2 separate regions of the Homo sapiens genome follow, and region 1 is linked to region 2. Evidence: promoter capture Hi-C in 16 types of primary human blood cells and fetal thymus (Javierre and others, 2016). All regions are on one chromosome and are shown on one strand. The core of a region is centred on a gene start or on the middle of the fragment in contact, and the rest is flanking DNA. Distances in the headings are between cores, read along the strand shown. Region 1 has its middle 51 kb from the start of HSD17B3-AS1. Region 2 holds the start of FBP1 (fructose-bisphosphatase 1).

Evidence for each region. The method cuts DNA at HindIII sites, captures the fragments that hold promoters and counts their contacts. A CHiCAGO score of 5 or more calls a contact.
Region 1: a contact is called between a fragment that was not itself captured here and the fragment with the promoter of FBP1 in region 2, in 1 of 17 cell types (total CD8 T cells). The highest score is 5.0, in total CD8 T cells.

Annotation. Positions count from the first base shown.
Region 1 is chr9:96,194,355-96,197,148 of GRCh38, reverse strand. No RefSeq gene overlaps it. Among named protein-coding and RNA genes, the nearest start is that of HSD17B3-AS1, 51 kb to the left of the region's middle. The HindIII fragment of the contact is 380 bases long and covers 1,288-1,667 here.
Region 2 is chr9:94,638,036-94,640,843 of GRCh38, reverse strand. FBP1 (fructose-bisphosphatase 1) reads left to right here and starts at 1,326. Exons shown (of 7, transcript NM_000507.4): 1 at 1,326-1,703. The coding sequence starts at 1,534. RefSeq lists a silencer at 1,193-1,252. The HindIII fragment of the contact is 3,451 bases long and covers 323-2,808 here.

The DNA of each region.
Region 1 (2,794 bases), core at 228-2,727, 1.6 Mb before region 2:
CTATCCCTCTCCTGGCCAAAAACCAAGCTATCTAGCCATGCACCGGCCAGCCTCATGGTGACTCCTGGGCCTGGCTTCTTGGTTCCTCTTGGTTACAGACTTCAGCGCCTGACCTCCCTCTTCACCCCCACTCATGTCCTCAATCACAGGGAGTTCAATATCCAAGTAGAGCACCCATCCACCTCCTTGGCTATTTGTCCTTGACATTGTAGCACTAAGGACCCTTTTTCCCCTCCACTGCAACCATCCACTTCCGTGGTCACACACTGAGTCTCATCATTCACAGAAGTCATTTTATCCAAATCTCATTTTCAAGCATTCCATTCTCTGACAAGCACTCCCTGTTGTTCTAGTCTCCTGGCTGCTAAGATTCCTCAATCTCATCAAAGGCTGTAACCCACTAAACCCTACACTTTGCCTGTCAAAGGCTTCCCCTAACTCATTCTCCAGTTAGATGTCATGGTCATGTGTATTATCATTCCCTTCAAGAAAACCTCTGTGCCCCTTCCTGGCTGTCCTCTGTCCTGCATGTGGCAGGCTGTATTTTCCAAAGGTGATCCTTCTACCCACTCCTCCACAATGTGACCTTGCTATTTCCCATTGAGAAGTGGAGTCTGATTCCTTGCCCTTGAATCTGGACTGGCCATATGACTTCATTATATCTAAAAGAATGCAGTGGGCTGGGCATGTTGACTCACACCTATAATCCCAGCACTTTGGGAGGCCAAGGTGGGAGGATTGCTTGAAGCCAGGAGTTCGAGACCAGCCTGGGCAACATAACAAGATCCTGTCTCTACAAAAGTAAAAATAAAATAAAATAAAAAATAAAATAAAATAAATAAAAATAATGCATTAGAAGTAACAGCACTAGCTTGGAAATGGCCCCACAGCTGTCCCCTGGTCCCTCTGGGATTCTTACTCTGGGGAAATCAGCCAATCAAGTAAGTATCCAATTGCCCTGAAACTTCCATGCTAGAAAGACTATATAGGCTCTTGAGTCAACAGTCTCAGGGGTCCTTGTGGTCCCAGCCTTCCTGCCATCTCAAGGTGCCAGACACGTGAGGAAAGCTGTCTTGGATGCTCCAGACCAGCCTGTCTCCCAGCTGAGTCCCATTGAGTGACCTCTGCCAATGCTACGAGGAGCATAAGAAGCATCCAGCTGAGACCTGCCTGAATTCCTGACCTTTGAGATAGAATCAAATTGCTGTTCTTTAGAGCCACCAAGTTTTGAGGAGGTTTGCTGTGTAGTAATCAAAACAGAAGTACTCTACTTGAAGACCCCAAGCTTGATTGGACCCAGTTGTCTGCCTTTTTTGTTCCTATTCCTGAGCAGCTGGAGAAAATTGAAAATTGCTAAGCAGAAATGACTGGCTTCACTTCAAACATCAAATGGCACAACGCCTAGCAATCCCATGATGCTTGCTCTTGTTGTAGTCGTCGGACTATTTCACACATTGCTTCTTGCCTCAAACTTCTTCCATTCCCTTCTTCTTTCCCAAGTCATCTGAGGAGAGATGTCAAATAGGCAGCAGGCTAGATAAGTCTGGAGTTCAGGAGAGAAGTGGTGATAGAGAAAAAAATTTAAGAGGCATTAGGGTGTAAGTGGAATGTAGAATCATAAAACTGGATGATATCACTAGGTTGGAGCATGAGTGAGTCCTCAAGCTTCCCAAGGCTTAGAGGTCTGGTAGAGGAAGGAGAAGCCAACAAAATGGGTCTGGAAGGATGGCTGGGGGTTAGAGTAAAACCAGGAGAGCATCACGTTCCAAAAACAGAGAAGAGAGCCAGGTACGCTGGCTTACGCCTGTAATTCCAGCACTTTAGGAGGCCGAGGTGGGCAGATCATGAGGTCAAGAGTTCAAGACCAGCTGACTAACATAGTGAAACCCCGTCTCTACTAAAAATACAAAAATTAGCCGGGTGTGGTGGCGGGCGCCTGTAATCCCAGCTACTCAGGAGGCTGAGGCAGGAGAATCGCTTGAACCTGGGAGGCAGAGGTTGCAGTGAGCCGAGATCGTGCCACTGCACTCCAGCCTGGGCAACAGAGTGAGACTGTCTGAAACAAAAACAAAAACAAAAAACAGAGAGGAGAATGTTTCTAGAGGGCAAGGCCTTGTGGAGGTGAGAGGAGGTAAGGTAGAGAGGATGGACGTGGATACCTGGGACGTCCTCCATGGCAATAGGAAGGGACAGGGAGGTGCACAGAGATGCTTCTGGACACTAGATTAGACAGCAGAAGATGAGGGAGTGCCCAACCGATGATGTTATTTATTTTCTCTGTAAAGTATGGATGTCTAATAGGCATCTCAGACTTGTGGTGTCTAAAACATAATTCCTTCCTTACCTCCAAACCCACTCCTACCTCGGCCTTTCCCAGCCCAGTTAATGATTTCCCCATTCAGTGCTTTGACTGGAAACACCAGTTCCTCATCTTCTCTCACACTCCATGTCCAATCCAACAGCAAGTCCTTCTGGCTCTACCCTAAAAATGTGTGTTAAATTTGGTCATTTTTCATGGTTTCTACTGCTGTTGCCCTTGTCCAAGCCACCTTTGCCTACCACCTGACCATGACCTTTGCTGAGCTCCTTGTGGTCACTCTTGCCGTTTCCGAAGATCTGTGACCCTCAGAACTCTAAAAGAGATAAGCGTAAAACACAGAAATCAAATTTAATGACCCCACTTAAACCACTCCGTTGTTTTCCCATCGTGCTTAAAACAAAATCCCAACTCCATAGGAATTGGTGGGCATTGATTTTGGATTTGGTAAATAGAGGACTCAGCTAGGGACATAGG
Region 2 (2,808 bases), core at 77-2,576:
TATGAAGACACAGGGTAGACCATGCCTCTCTTCTTCTCCAAACTCTCCAGTGGGTTCCTCCTAGTCAAAGTCAAACCTCACTTGGCCCTCTAGACCTCACCTCTGCATCCTCCCGCTGGCCTTATCTCCTCCACCTCTGACCCTTGCTAGCTCTATTTCAGCTCCACCGGTCTCCTGGCCATTCCCTGAACCTGAAACATGGTCTCCTACCCCAGGGCCTGTGCACTGGCTCTCCCGGTGAGGAAACCGCTCTCCTTCCCATCTCCACCGGCGCGTTGCATCCTTCACCTCTTTGCTCACATATCCCTTTCTCAGAGAAGCTTTTACTGAGGCCTCTGCTCACCCTCTTCTCCCCTCCACATTCCGTGTCTTCCTTTTCTATTTCGTTTCTCTCTATGGTACTTATGGCTTATGTAACAAACTAATCTATTGTTTATATATTTATTTTTACTGTTTCTCTGTGAAAACGTACACTCGAAAAGGGCAGGAGTTTTGTCTGTTTGGATCAGGCTCCACCCCTGGAAGGTAGGACAGTGTTCAGCACAGCAGGTGCTCAATAGGTGTTGTTTCGTGAATCAGCACATCAATTGCAGCATTGTGGCTACCAGGGGGTCAGGATGCGGGCGGTGGAGCCCTCTGGCCTTTGTGTGGTAGCCGAGGACTCTGTGTCAGCGACCGTTTTCCGGGAAACTTCCGGGCGAGACTCACATCTTGGAAATTCAAATACTCAATAGCTCTCGAATTCTAGGAATCTTGAGAAGAGGCCTGGATTAAGGATTCAGACGTGGGCCCTCAGATGGGTGAGAAACGGGGACTCTGTGTCTCCTAGCGGGGACAGAAGGGCCAGGTGACAGGCCAGGCAGAGTGGACGGGGCTTGGGCAGGGGGCGGGGGCAGGCAGCCACACGGGGCAGGAGCTGCAGAGCTAAAGCCAGGCCATGTGGACTGGCTGCGGGTTTCGCTGCCTAGCTGGTGGCATTGAGCAAGTTACTTAACCTTTCTGAACTTCCGTTTTATGATTTTGGAGGAAACAGTCATAGCTTTCTCTCTGGCAGAGTCCGATGGCCCGAGTCCCGCTCCACAGTGCGGGTGGAGGGCACGGAGGGGTGTGTGTGGGGGGCGACAGCCCAGGAAGACTAGGGGGCGGCAGGGCGCGTGGGGGCGGGGGTTGGGAGACCGCAGGGAGGATCCCCGACCTTGTCTGAAGATCCAAGCAGGCGGAGCCGCGGTCTGGTCCGCGGGGTAGGCGGGGCGCAAGAGTGTTCCCGGGGGCGGGGGGCCGACCCGCGTCTAAAGGTTTCCGCGATTCACCCGCCGGCGCCTGGCCTGGCCCAGTTGCACCACGAGCGCTGCGGACACTCGGGGCGGCAGTCGGTCTGTCAGTCCTCCCGCCAGGTCCCGCGGCCCGCACCTGCCGCCCGCACCTGCAGCTCCGCACCTGCGGCCAGTGCCTACTGCCCTCTCTTGCCGCCCGCACCTGCAGCCCCGCACCTGCCGCTTGCACCTGCAGCCCCGCGCTCTACCCGGTTCAAGCATGGCTGACCAGGCGCCCTTCGACACGGACGTCAACACCCTGACCCGCTTCGTCATGGAGGAGGGCAGGAAGGCCCGCGGCACGGGCGAGTTGACCCAGCTGCTCAACTCGCTCTGCACAGCAGTCAAAGCCATCTCTTCGGCGGTGCGCAAGGCGGGCATCGCGCACCTGTGAGTCGGGCCTTGGGCGGTGGGCCCCGTCCTGTCTGTCTGCCTGGGGAGCCTGCCCGGCGGGCTGACGTTGGGCCCTCTGAGCCTCCTGCCGTCAGCCTCTGTCTGTCCGTCTGATGTCTGAGCGCCTCTCTCGCTCTCTGTCTGGTAGCCCCTCTCTCCAGAAGCTGGCTCAGCCTCACTCAAGTCCTCATCTCCTCCCTTGACCTTGGAGGGGCCCACCTGGGGGTCCGTCTCACAGGTGTACACCTGATTCCATCTTGCATTCCTCTTCTCTGCCCTGAGCAGCCTGCCTCGTACCCCTCTCAGCCGGCCAAGTGTGGGCACCTGGCCTGCCCGTCATACCCGCCCTAGCCTCAGACAGGAAAGTGCTAGCTCAGGTGCCTTCCTTCCCCATTTCTTCTTTGTCCTCCTTCACTCTTTCTGCAATTAGGGACCCAAGTCAGGTTTCTAATCCAGTTATCTCTGACCTGAAACAAGACCTGTTAGGAGCGAGTGTCCCCCCCGCCCCCCCCGCAAGCAGGCTGGGAGGTCTCCTGTGTGTCCAGAGCCTTTAGGAGCAGCAGGGCTTGTGTGCAAAGGAGCTCCCGTGGGCTGCCCCTTGCTGGGACAGTTGCCATGCTGTGCCAGAAACAGGAAACACCCAGGGCTTCAAAACCCCTATCGATTTGCAATGATGGTGTGTGCAGCCTCTGCCCAATTAGTGGAAAGCTCAAAAGTGGTTTGTAGAATGGTTCTGAATGCGCTATGGAGTGCATCTCGAACGTCACTGGGCACAGGAATCATTTGGGGATCTTGGTAAGATGTGTGCCCTCCTTCCATAGCTCTGGGACAGGTCCTGAGATTCTGCATTTCTAAGAAGTTCTCCTGTGGTGGGTGCTGCCCATCAGATACTGTTTGTCTACTCATCACATTGTGAGTAGCAAGGGGTCAAGTGGAGTGGAGACTCAAAGGACCCCTTCTTGTGAGGTTTTTTGTAAGTCACACAACATCCTTTCGTTTGTGTTGGTGTGCACAGGTATTTTCTTTTTCTTTTCTTTTTTTTTTTTTTTTTGAGATGGAATTTTGCTCTTGTTGCCCAGGCTGGAGTGCAATGGTGCGATCT